4 separate regions of the Homo sapiens genome follow, and all the other regions are linked to region 1. The links are contacts of gene promoters, found by promoter capture Hi-C in human tissues and cell types (Jung and others, 2019). All regions are on one chromosome and are shown on one strand. Each heading gives the region's core, a stretch centred on a gene start or on the middle of the fragment in contact. The rest is flanking DNA. Distances are from core to core; before and after follow the strand shown.

What was found. The method cuts DNA at HindIII sites, captures the fragments that hold promoters and counts their contacts. A contact is called where the count stands out against the background at its distance.
Region 2: a fragment that was not itself captured here is called in contact with the fragment with the promoter of PCGF6 in region 1 in 1 of the 25 tissues and cell types used here (dorsolateral prefrontal cortex).
Region 3: a fragment that was not itself captured here is called in contact with the fragment with the promoter of PCGF6 in region 1 in 1 of the 25 tissues and cell types used here (spleen).
Region 4: a fragment that was not itself captured here is called in contact with the fragment with the promoter of PCGF6 in region 1 in 1 of the 25 tissues and cell types used here (dorsolateral prefrontal cortex).

What each region holds. Positions count from the first base shown.
Region 1 is chr10:103,349,671-103,352,875 of GRCh38, forward strand. PCGF6 (polycomb group ring finger 6) reads right to left here and starts at 1,470. Exons shown (of 10, transcript NM_001011663.2): 1 at 1,037-1,470. The coding sequence starts at 1,396. RefSeq lists an enhancer at 698-1,203 and a silencer at 1,369-1,598. The HindIII fragment of the contact is 14,072 bases long and covers 1-3,205 here.
Region 2 is chr10:102,506,134-102,509,338 of GRCh38, forward strand. SUFU (SUFU negative regulator of hedgehog signaling) reads left to right here. Exons shown (of 12, transcript NM_016169.4): 2 at 3,036-3,170. Among named protein-coding and RNA genes, the nearest start is that of SUFU, 3.8 kb to the left of the region's middle. The HindIII fragment of the contact is 3,584 bases long and covers 1-3,042 here.
Region 3 is chr10:102,656,526-102,659,730 of GRCh38, forward strand. It overlaps TRIM8 (tripartite motif containing 8), which reads left to right. Exons shown (of 6, transcript NM_030912.3): 6 at 222-1,793. The coding sequence ends at 829. Among named protein-coding and RNA genes, the nearest start is that of TRIM8, 14 kb to the left of the region's middle. The HindIII fragment of the contact is 6,582 bases long and covers 1-3,205 here.
Region 4 is chr10:102,787,449-102,790,653 of GRCh38, forward strand. All of the region lies in intron 1 of WBP1L (WW domain binding protein 1 like), which reads left to right. Among named protein-coding and RNA genes, the nearest start is that of CYP17A1-AS1, 44 kb to the right of the region's middle. The HindIII fragment of the contact is 4,714 bases long and covers 1-3,205 here.

The DNA of each region.
Region 1 (3,205 bases), core at 220-2,719:
GGGTTTCACCGCTTTGGTCAGGCTGAACTCCTGACCTCGTGTTTCGCCTGCCTCGGCCTCCCAAAGTGCGGGGATTATAGGCGTGAGCCACACCGCGCCCAGCCAAATTATTGTTTCAAAAGGATCTTTACGCTGGGCGCAGTGGCTCACGCCTGTAATCCCAGCACTTTGGGAGGCCGAGGCGGGCGGATCACGAGGTCAGGAGATCGAGACCATCCTGGCTAACACGGTGAAACCCCGTCTCTACTAAAAATACAAAAAATAAGCCGGGCGTGGTGGCGGGCGCCTTGTAGTCCCAGCTACTCTAAAGGCTGAGGCTGGAGAATCGCTTGAACCTGGGAGGCGGAGGTTGCAGTGAGCCGAGATCGCGCCACTGCACTCCAGCCTGGGCGACAGAGCGAGACTCCGTCTCAAAAACAAAACAAAACAAAACAAAACAAAAGGATCTTTACTGCCTAGTAAGCAGTAGCTTCAATAATTATACAGGACAGGCAACGTGGCTCACGCATGTAATCTTTCGGAAGGCCAGAGAGGGAGAATCTCTTGAACCCAGGAGTTCGAGAACAGCCTGGGAACATAGGGAGCCCTCCTCGCTACAAAAAAAAAAAAAAATGTTTAATTAGCCCGGCGTGGTGGCGCGTGCCTGTAGTCCCAGCTACTCCGGAGGCTGAGGCGGGAGGATCGCCTGAGGCCAGGAGTTGGAGGCTGCAGTGAGCCATGGTCGCGCCACTGCACTCCAGCCTGGGAGACCCTGTCTCAAAATAATTATAATTATTAACAGAACGAATGAGTTGGACTCGCAGAGCCTAAGTGACCTGCAAGAACTTCACAAAATAAGCGGGTAAAGACCCAGGCCGGGCCGGAGGCCTGTCGGCGCCACACGCCTAGGCAGCCGGGGCAGAGGTCGGGGGAGGTCCGCTCCAGTGCTCCGCGCGGCGGCGGCGCACTAGGATCGGGCCGGCGCCCGGCAGACGAGGGCCAGCTACGTCCCTGACGCCGCTTGGGCCCAGCGGGGTCGCGCGGGGGCTCTAAATACCTCCTCCTCGTCCTCCGAGTCCTGCCGGCCTCCCTCCAGCCTCAACGAGAAGTGACTCATGTCCTCCTCCTCCTCCTCTTCTTCCTCCTCCAGCTCCTCTTCTTCTTCCAACTCCTCGTCCTCGTCCTCGAAGCGGCCTCTGAAGCGGCCCAGGCTGCGCTCCGGCTCCAGCTCAGGGGGCCGGGAGCCGGAGCAGCCGGGAGCCCCCGTCTCAGACAGAGGCGCCGGTCCCTCCTCACCCGCTGCGGGTGCAGGGGTGAGGGCGGGCGGGGAGACAGGAGGCGGAGGCGGCAAGGCTGCAGCTCCCTCGGTTTTGGCAGCGCCTACGCTGCCCGCCGTCACCACCGCGACCCCCTCCATGGTCGGGAGAGACACCAGGCGAGGCGAGGCGGCGGGAGAGCGCGGGAGTTCGGCCGGCCTCGGACGCCACCACTGCGCAGGCGCGGCAGCCTGAGGGGCTCGCCGGGAAATGTGGTTTAGCGGCCCTCACCTCCGCGGGGCGCAAACCCTGCAGCTCCGGGGCAGGCTGCGGGGCGCGCGGGCCGCACTTTAAAGGAATCTCACCAGATTTTCTCCTTGGAAGGGGACGCTCTCTTCGCCGCCTTTTAAAAACAGCAAAATTGCTACCGTTCCAAGCAACAATATTCTGTTTGCATCACCTAATTCACAGAGCACTGAACTAGGTAGCATGTGACGTTGCATCACAAATAATAATCATTTCCACTTGAGTACCAATTATGCATTTCCTCTGTGGCAAATCACCTCCATCCAAGATTATTTCCCTTAGGAAGTATAAAGTTCCTGTTCTGAAGTATGTACGTTTATTTATTTTAAGGAATTATATAGTGTATTGATACAAGGTGAAAATCTAATCACTACTCAAAGATCATCCATGTCACCCCATCCCATAAAGCCCATTATATTGAATTCGAAAAGCTTTTTTTTTTTTTTTTTGAGACAGTTTCGCTCTTGTCGCTCAGGCAGGAGTGCAGTGGCGCTCACTTGCAACCTCCGCCTCCCGGGTCCAAGCGATTCTGCCTCAGGCTCCCAAGCAGCTGGGACTACTGGCGCCTGCCACCACGCCCAGCTAACTTTTGTATTTTCAGTAGAGACAGGGTTTCACCATGTTGACCAGGCTAGTCTCAAACTTCTGATCTCAGGTGATCCACCCGCCTCAGCCTCCCAAAGTGTTGGGTTACAGGCCTGAGCCAGGGCGCCGGGCCCAACAAACATTTATTGAGGGCCTACTGTAGCAGAAACTCAGACCCACCCAGGTACAACCCACCCCATTGCCCAATTTTATTAAGAGAGGTTTGGAGTTGGCTTAACATTATTCTTGCTAGTCCGGGCGCGGTGGCTCACACCTGTAATCCCAGCACTTTGGGAGGCCGAGGCGCGCAGATCATGAGGTCAGGAGTTCAAGACCAGCCTAGCCAACATGGTGAAACCCCGTCTCTACTAAAAATACAAAAATTAGCTGGGCATGGTGGCGCGTGCCTGTAATCCCAGCTACTTGGGAGGCTAAGGCAGAAGAATCACTTGAGCCCAGGAGGCGGAGCTTGCAGTGAGCTAAGATCGTGCCACTGCACTCCAGCCTGGGCTACAGAGTGAGACTCCATCTCAAAACAAAACAAAACAAAACAAAACAAAACAAAAAACAAAAAAACCATTATCCTTGCTAAGATAATGCCAGCTAATGTCACGATGCCTGCAAGAAAGATTCGGGAAGTCAAATGCTCCTAATCAAATAATGCCTGGCAAAGTCACATTTAAGAGCTGAATGTGACCAGGCACAGTGGCTCCCGCCTGTAATCCCAGCACTTTGGGAGGCTGAGGCAAGCGGATTGCCTGAGGTTGGGAGTTAGAGACCAGCCTGACCAACATGGAGAAACCCCATCTCTACTAAAAATACAAAATTAGCCGGGCATGGTGGCGCATGCCTGTAATCCCAGCTACTCGAGAGGCTGAGGCAGGAGAATCACTTGAACACAGACGAGGTGGAGGTTGCGGTGAGCCGAGATCACACCACTGCACTCCAGCCTGGGCAACAAGAGCAAGACTCCATCTCAAAAAAAAAATAAATTTTAAAAATATGGCCAAGCGAGGTGGCTCATGCCTGTAATCCCAATGCTTTGGGAGGCTGAGTTGGGCGGGTAACGAGGTCAGGAG
Region 2 (3,205 bases), core at 1-2,500, 840 kb before region 1:
CAGATTCAGGCAACTATTTTTATGTCACCCAAGTAGCCATAAAGGATAGAATTGTATGTAAAAGGTATGAAAGCATGTGCAAAGGACTAAGGGCAATTTTTTTTTCCTTCCTGCTGCAAGCTTGTTAACAGCCATATCTTCAGAGATGGGCCAACATGTGATAATGAAGAAAAGGGATTATACAGCACTTTGTGAAAGCCCTTCCTAGATGCAGAAAAGTATAAAGAGAAACAGCACAGTGACTGGTACTTTCTTTTTTTTTTGAGACAGAGTTTTGCTCTGTCACCCAGGCTGGAGTGCAGTGGCACGATCTTGGCTTACTGCAACCTCTGTCTCCCGGTTTCAAGCGATTCTCGTGCCTCAGCCTCCCAAGTAGCTGATATTACAGGCACACGCCACCTTGCCCAGCTAATTTTTGTATTTTTAGTAGAGGCAGAGTTTCACCATGTTGGCCAGGCTGGTCTCGAACTCCTGACCTCAAGTGATCAACCCACCTCGGCCTCCCAAAGTGCTAGGATTACAGGCGTGAGCCAGTGCGACCAGCCATCAGTGACTGGTACTTTCTAAGATGTGGAGGGGTTTGCAAAAATAAGATCCTGAAATTCATTTATATTCCTCACATTTGGGATCCCACGAGGTTTCTAGCAGGATGACTGACCCAGGCTGTCTGGGTCTGTCTGTGGCCCAGGGTAGCTTGGGATTCATTTTGCAATAGCAGTGTGGCTCTGTGACTGGTGATCCCTGAGTAGTGGGGACATTCTAACTGAAAGCTGAGACTTTGGTGAGCAAGGATCAAAGCAGAGAGGCAGAACCTGTACTCATGGCCCACTTCAGTCCTGCAACTGCCCTGCAGAGAGAAGTTGGGTGTTCAAGGAATTAAGTTGAGGGATGCCCTGGGACCTTGGATAACATCATTTGCTAAGTGTAAAATGCGATTTTTTTCCACATACTCATCTGGCCTCTGAGTAGTAAGTAAACAGAATACTCTGTGCTTGGGGACAGGGTTAATTTTATCTGACTCTTGGTAGTTCCTTGCAGTTGGAGTTTGAAGGTTAAGCTTCTCTCCTTGATGTGACACCTTGTGGGAGACTTGGTGAGAAAGAGGGCTGCAGGGATGCTGCAGATGGAGCAGAGAATGGTAAACACAGTTTTGCAGCTTGGTGCAGGATGGACCTAGGCTGTAGCGGGGCAGGTTTGGAAATTTGCAGCAGGAAACTGGAGCAGGTATGGGGCCTGTAGTGGCTCTCATCTGCTCTGGAGTTCTGTAGCTCTAATGGGGTCTTTCCAGGGATCTCTACTCTTTTCTTTCTTCCCTTGCCCCACAAACTTTTCTAAATCCAACCTGTTGTAGAATTAGTCAAGTGATTTGTTGAAATCAGTTAAGGCAGACATGGAGAGTTGTCCCTCTTCCTCTGTTGAGATGCTAAGCTATTTGTAGCAACTTTCTTAAAAGTTCTATAAATAACTTAGCATTTCCTAACAGAGAATAGGGATTTCTATCCACAAAGGCAAATAATATCCTGGTGAAAGAGGACGAAACAAGACCAACTGGTTTTAAATAGTGTTTAAATTGCCTGGTGCTGGCACCATTGACTGGGATCACTTGTAACATGTCTTTTATTTGGTTGTTAGCTTTCCACCAGCATGCTATCCCAGTTGCAAAGTGTACTCCATCGATGTCCCAGGGGCAGGTGAAGCTTTTGCAGTCTGTGGAATGGTCAGATGTTTGAGGCAGCTCAAATGCCGTGTTTGTGGGCTAAATGCAGACTTCCTTCCACTGATGGTTTCTATTTGGTCTATTTCTCTAGCTACCAAAATTTCTTATCCATTTTTTTTTTTTTTTTTTTTTTTAGACAAAGTCTCACTCTGTCACCCAGGCTGGAGTGCAGTGGCGCAATCTTGGCTCCCTGCAACCTCTGCCTCTGTTGTCCAGGCGATTCTCCTGCCTCAGCCTCTCAAATAGCAAATAGCTGGGATTACAGGCACCTGCCACCACACCTGGCTAATTTTTTGTATCTTTAGTAGAGATGGGGTTTCACCATGTTGGCCAGGCTGGTCTCAAACTCCTGACCTCAAGTAATCCACCCACTTCGGCCTCCCAAAGTGCAGAGATTACAGGTGTGAGCCACCGTGCCCGGCCAAAACAGGATTTTTTTTAAAAAGCACTGATTACTAAAGGGAACTCTTATTGTATTAAATCCTCAGAGTGAGATAATAACTGAATCTCTTCCGCAACTCCTTCTCAGTTGAATGGTGGGGGAAATTTAATGTGGTCCTGAGAGGCCCCAAATCATTTACCATCCCAGCTCTACCTTTGATGTGGCAGTCTCTCCTGGGATCATTTTCTGGGTGCAGATGCTCACAGGGCGCAGTTTGACTCCTTCTGCAGTTCTCTGTGCAGAACTAAGTTAAGCCTAAGTTTGGCCTTTGTCACTTGCAATGATAAGAGACCAGCTTTGGTCTATGGGGTGCAGGCTGGTGTCAGCACAGACTAGAGGCTTTGGGTTTGTTTAGAACAAACTGTAATTAACATAGGGCACAATATAGTCTTTCAGGAATTAGCTGTCTAAGAGGCTGGAGTGGAGCAGAGCCTCTGCTTCCAGGAACAATGCCCATTGGGGATGCTTGGGATGGTCTTTCAACAGAGGCCAATTGATTGACTGATGTACCTCTTGCCTTGAAGCTTGGCATGTATACAGGCACCACAGAAGAGAGACAATCCCTGCCAATCTCATTTGGGATCGGTAATTTGAAACAGGAGAAAGCAAAATGGGTAACCATCCAGTCTGTTTTATTTCTAAAAGAGGCCCAGTCTTTCAGGGGTAGGAGAAGGGAGCCTCTTGGGCTTGCAGAGTTGGGCAGCCTTAGCTGTCCATCCCTTAGTCTCATTCTGGAGAGATGTGGCCTCTGTTTAGTTACCTTTCACCCAGGTTCCTCCAGGATGGGTCCTTTAGGTTTACAAAGTAGAGCGCCTTAGCTTGACATTGTCTGATTTCCAGGCTTACACTAACACCCCTGTGTTTTGTTTTTTGCAGGTTGGGTGGCCCAGACCCCTTGGACTATGTTAGCATGTACAGGAATGTGGGGAGCCCTTCTGCTAACATCCCCGAGCACTGGCACTACATCAGCTTCGGCCTGAGTGATCTCTATGGTGACAACAGAGTCCATGAGTGAGTATATGCCACCTGTTCTTTATCCAGAGCCT
Region 3 (3,205 bases), core at 1-2,500, 690 kb before region 1:
GACAGTGGGTAAGCAACATGACCTCCCCAGCCTCCATTTCTTCAGCTTAAAGTGGGGATATAACTATTCTGTACCTCCTAATGGTAGAGGAGCAAGCATCACCTGAGATGTAACATTCTTGGGCCTCTAGGTGTCAATGGTCCCCAGGTCCAACCCAGGGAGAGGAGGCCTGGGTTGCTTGGGGTGGGAGCTTTGGCGACTTTTGCCCCAACTCTCCACAGGCCCCTTCAGCACGCCGGTGCCCTTCCTGCAGAGTGTCCCCCTGTACCCTTGCGGCGTGAGCAGCTCTGGGGCGGAAAAGCGCAAGCACTCAACGGCCTTCCCAGAGGCCAGTTTCCTAGAGACGTCGTCGGGCCCTGTGGGCGGCCAGTACGGGGCGGCGGGCACAGCCAGCGGTGAGGGCCAGTCTGGGCAGCCCCTGGGGCCCTGCAGCTCCACGCAGCACTTGGTGGCCCTGCCGGGCGGCGCCCAACCAGTGCACTCAAGCCCCGTGTTCCCCCCATCGCAGTATCCCAATGGCTCCGCCGCCCAGCAGCCCATGCTCCCCCAGTATGGCGGCCGCAAGATTCTCGTCTGTTCTGTGGACAACTGTTACTGTTCTTCCGTGGCCAACCATGGCGGCCACCAGCCCTACCCCCGCTCCGGCCACTTTCCCTGGACAGTGCCCTCGCAGGAGTACTCACACCCGCTCCCGCCCACACCCTCCGTCCCCCAGTCCCTTCCCAGCCTGGCGGTCAGAGACTGGCTTGACGCCTCCCAGCAGCCCGGCCACCAGGATTTCTACAGGGTGTATGGGCAGCCGTCCACCAAACACTACGTGACGAGCTAACGCCACGCAGGCGGCGGGGCGCTGGGGAATCTTCCTCCCCAGCCCCCGGGCTCGGGAGTTATGCATCCAGAGACCTGCCCTTCTACCTTCCTCGCCTCCCCTCTTCCTCATTCCATTGCCCCAGGTCTTTTCCTTTTGGATTTTGTTTTGGTTTTGGCTTTGTTTTTGATTTTTTTTTATTATGAATCTCCTGGACGCAGAGGTGACAGTGGGAGCTGGCCTGGGCCAGGACGGCAGGTGGCCCTGGAGATGGGAAAGTGTCTGTGTCGAGGCGCTGAGCTCTCTCTCTGTTTCTCCTTTTTTCCTCTACTCCTTCCCCTTCACACCCCCGTGGCTGGAAGGAACCTCGGCTTCCCTGAAAGCTTGGGGGTCCCACCCTTCTTACCCCACCCGGGAGGAACGCCCAGGGCCCCGGGCTTGTTTCTCCTCTTGTTTTCCTTTTGGGCAGTTTGATCACTGATCGAGTAAGGAATGACCTTTAGATTGTGCGACTTTTGTTTTTGTTTTTTTAAATTTTTTTAAACCAAGAATGATTTCTCCTGCTTCCTTCTCCTCACCATCTTCCCAGACGGAGTTCAAAGGCCACTTCTCAAGCAGCTTTTGGCACCTTCAGCCTCAGAGTGGAATCTTTTAAAGACAGGACCCCTATGTCCAGGAAAGGGGAAAAGGAACTTTGCCAATGATAGTGACCACAGCAAAAGCAAATAATAATAATATTAATAATAATAAAGAGAAATAAAATAATAAAATAAAAAACAATAGCACAGCCCTTGTTGAGGTCAGCAGGGAGGAGGGGCTGCCCGGAGTTGGGTCCTTGCCTGGATTTTGACACAGCAACTTCCTGTAGTGAGCACTTTGTATGAATCGTGGACTTCCTGTTCTCAAGGCGCAGGTATTTATTCTGTATCTGTCTAGAGCACACACCAAAATCCAACCTTCTAATAAACATGATGGCGCAGTCCCACTCCCTGCCTCGCCTGTTCCCCTATCCCCCCCAGGCCTGGGATCTTCAGGCGTCGGTGTGGGGAGGGGCCCCTGCCCTCCTTGCCTTGATTTTGCTCCCCTGGGTCCAGCTGGTTCCAGGCCTGTGAATGTCAGTTCGTCGGGCACTGACTCCGTCTGCTCTTGGCCTTGGGTTCATTTGACAAATATTTGCCCAGGGCCTCCCAGGCCCAGCCCCATGCCACCTGGGCCCCGGCATCTCTTTGAGGTTCTGCCAATGTGCTCTTAGCTGAGGACGAAGGAGGAACACCTTTCTATGAGTCTTGCAAAGTTTACCTCCTTCAGGCCACAAATATTTGAGTGCACACTACGTGCCAGGCACTGTGCAGGGCTGCAGGCATAGAGACAGAATGTAATCTAGCTGGGCCTTGGACCCCATAGGGAGAGGGGACCACTCAGGTCCATACTTCCTTTGGACTTGGGGCTTTGGCCTTGGGAGGGGTGGAGGTGGGGTGGCAAGATGAAAAAGACATCCTGCCCCCATCCACTTCGGCAGAGCTTCTCAAAGTCTCAAGCATGTCTTGGGAGCTTGTTAAAAGGGCCGATTCCTTGCTGTGGCTCACGCCTGTAATCCTGACATTTTGGGAGGCCAAGGCAAATTGCCTGAGCTCAGGGGTTTGAGACCAGCCTGGGCAACATGTCGGAACCCTGTTTCTACAAAAAATACAAGAATTAGTTGGGCGTGGTGGGGCACACCACACCTGTGGTCCCAGCTACTCTGGGACTGAGGTGGGAGAACTGCTTGAGCCTGGGAGGCAGAGGTTGCAGTAGGTCTAGATCAAGTCACTGCACTCCAGCCTGTGCAACAAAACAACAGAGCAAGACCCTGTCTCAAAAAAAAAAAAAAAAAAAGGGTAAGGGTGCTGATTCCTGAGGCCTAGCTTAGACTCATCGGGAATCTCTGAGAGCCCAGGAATTTGCATTTTTAACTCTATTCTCCCATATCCTGGGTTTAGAGAAGTGCTGCCATTGTGGTGGTCAGGGTCCTCCCTGCTGCTTGTCACAGAGGCCACTGCGGGGAGAGGAAGCTGGGACACCCCCAAGGCCCTTCTCTGGAGAGGGGCCTCACCTTCAAAAAGGCTCCGGTTGTTGCCTGATGCTCTGCACAGAGCTGTAAGTCCGCAGCCCATGCACTTCTGTAATCTGCTGGGTGCCTAGTTATCTTTCTTCTTGTTTGGGCAGAATCCGGGCCTGAATGCCACCCACCCCAGGAAGCCCAGGACAAGGCAGACAGCCTTGTAAAGTCCCATTCCTGCCAGGCGCGGTGGCTCATGCCTGTAATCCCAGCACTTTGGGAGGCTGAGATGGGCGGATCACCTGAGGTCGGGAGTTCGAGACCAGCCTGGTCAACGTGGTGAAATTTCATCTCTATTA
Region 4 (3,205 bases), core at 475-2,974, 560 kb before region 1:
GTGGTGGCGTATGCCTGTGGTCCTAGCTAATTGGGAGGCTGAGGTGGGAGGATTGCTTGAGCCTGGGAAGTTGAGGCTGCAGTGAGCTATGATCGTGCCACTACACTCTAGCCTTGGTGACAGAGTGAGACCCTGTTTCCAGAGGGGGAAAAAAAAGAGAGGGGAGACTAGACTAACACATGGGAAGCAATAGGCCAGGACTCCTGCTGCATCATCCCCCTTCTTGAGCTTACTTTCTTCATCCTCAGCCCTTCTGTACTCTCCTTCTACCCAATTTGAAAATGTGTGCCCTTGAACAGTTCTCTTTATTTCCCTCAGGTCTTTGAACAGTCTAAAAAACCAATAGTGGTCAGGCACGGTGGCTCACGCCTGTAATCCCAGCACTTTGGGAGGCCGAGGTGGGCGGATCACCTGAGGTCAGGCGTGCGAGACCAGCCTGGCCAATATGGTGAAACCCTGTCTCTATTAATAATACAAAAAATTAGCTGGGCGTGGTGGTGCACGCCTGATGTCCCAGCTACTCGGGAGGCTGAGGCAGGAGAATCACTGGAACCTGGGAGGTGGTGGTTGCAGTGAGCCGAGATCGTGCCACTGTACTCTAGCCTGAGTGACAGAGACCCTGCCTCAGGAAAAAAAAAACAAAACCAATACTATCAGGGAGAACGTGATCTTAACTTTCTTTCTTTCTTTTTTTTTTTTTGAGACAGTCTCACTCTGTCACCCAGGCTGGAGTGCAGTGGTGCGATCTCGGCTCACTGCAACCTCTGCCTCCTGGGTTCATGCCATTCTCCTGCCTCAGCCTCCCGAGTAGCTACCACGCCCGGCTAATTTTTTGCATTTTTTAGTAGAGACGGGGTTTCACAGTGTTAGCCAGGATGGTCTTGATCTCCTGATCTCATGATCCGCCTGTTTCGGCCTCCCAAAGTGCTGGGATTACAGGCATGAGCCACCACACCTGGCTGATCTTAACTTTCTAATTGTAAAAATATAGGTAAAAATATAGGTGAATACATGAAGCTTTGCCTCCTTACCACCTACAAATATGTTTCTAAGGACCTGGGCTTGAAAGTGCTGCATTTTCAGAACTTGAAGATTCTATCTAGGATAGAACAAAAATAGCTGATTCTAAGTTAAAGTTGTTTGCTGTCTTATTTAGCCATTTCAAATGTCTGCTTTATGAAAACTGCGTTATCCTTTAGCTACAGAGCATTACCAAAATCATTTAGAACTTTTTCCTAGTAGATATGCAGTGCTAGACTTTGGTCTCCTTTCTAGAAAGCCATTCCTGGTTCAAGAATGGAAGGAAAGTTTGTTTTGTTGCTTACTCTGCAAGAGCAGCCACAACCTGGCTGGGGGGGATAAATAAAGGCTCAAGGTAAAGAATAAGTATGAGAGTTGCAAAAATATTTATATATTTATTCAAGTCTCCACCATAACCTAAGGGAGGGACTAGCCAAAGCCAACAATGAATTCATAAACTGTGGTACTTTGGAGATTATTTTATTTTATTTTATTATTTATTTTTTACTGAGACGGAGTCTTGCTCTGTTGCTCAGGCTGGAGTGCAGTGGCACAATCTCGGTTTGCTGCAACCTCCACCGCCTGGGTTCAAGTGATTCTTGTGCCTCAGCCTCCTGAGTAGCTGGGACTACAGGTGCGCACAACCACGCATGGCTAATTTTTTAAATATTTTTAATAGCGATGGGTTTTCGCCATGTTGGCCAGGCTGGTCTCGAATTCGTAACCTCAGGTGATCCACCTGCCTCAGCCTCCCAAAGTGCTGGGATTACAGGCATGAGCCACTGCACCCAGCCTGGAGATTATTTTAATTGTTATACAAAGCCTATGAGATCTGACCTCAGCTGAATTCTTAGCTCCCCTTTCACACTGCTTTCCCTGAGATCACTGTACTCAGCTACACTAGTCTTCTTTCTCTTCCTTGAGCACACCAAGCTTGTTTCTGCCCTGGTGTTTTTGCGTGGATTTGATATTTCTTCTTCCTGGAACACTGTTCTCACCGGTCTGGTTAAGCTGGCTCTTTTTCAGCAGTCAGGGCTCTACTCAGATGTCACCTACTCAGAGTGGCCTTTCCTGACCACCCTATCTAAAACTCTTTGTCTCATTATCGTGTTTTATTATCCTCATGGAGCTTATTACTGCTAGTGAAATTATAATTTTGCTTGTTAATTGTCCGTCTTCCCAACTGGAACATATTTAAAAATCTTTTTGCCTTTGTCACTCTGCAGTTTCATACAGTGTACCTAGGTGTGGGCTTCTTATTATCTGGAAATTTTGTATCTTTTTTTTTTTTTTTTTGACAGTCTCACTCTGTCACCCAGGCTGGAGTGCAGTGGCATGATCTCGGCTCACTGCAACCCCCGCCTCTCAGGTTCAAGCGATTTTCCTGCCTCAGCCTCCCGAGTAGCTGGGACTACAGGCGCCCGCCACCACGCCCAGCTAATTGTATTTTTAGTAGAGATGGGGTTTCACAGTGTTAGCCAGGATGGTCTCGATCTCCTGACCTCATGATCTGCCCAACTTGGCCTCCCAAAGTGCTGGGATTATAGGCATGAGCCACCACGCCCGGCCGAAATTTTGTATCTTTAATCAGTCTTATATAGAAAATTTTTAGTTATCCCTTTAAATATTTCCTCTCCTCCATTCTTTTCTTCTCAAGCTTCTTTCTCATTTTTCATTTCCATGTTTTCTCTTGTAGAAGCACTTTGATGGTAATTTTCTCAGATCTGTTCTCTAGTTCATCAATTTCCTCTTTAACTTGGTCTCCTCTCTGTGTGACCCATCTGTTGAGTTTTTTCTTTCAATAACTATTTTTCTACAAGTTTTATCTGCCTGTTACTATTTCTTGTTTGGTAGTGTTCTTTTCTTGTGTTTTTAATTCTTTCTTTTTGGCTTTAATCATTTGAGATATGCTTGTATCTTATAGGGACTTTTTTTCAGGGGGTCTTATCCTGCTATTTGTTGAATTTGTCATCTTGTTTGTAATGGATTAGTTTTGCATACATTTTTATATTTTGGATTGTGAGCTTATCTTCAACAGAACTTTATTTTTATTTTTATTTTTGAGACAGTCTCTCACTGTCGCCCAGGCTGGAGTACAATGGTGCAATCTCGGCTCACTGCAACCTCTGCCTCCCGGGTTCAAGCAATTCTCCTGCCTCAGCGTCCGGAGTAGCTGGGATTACAG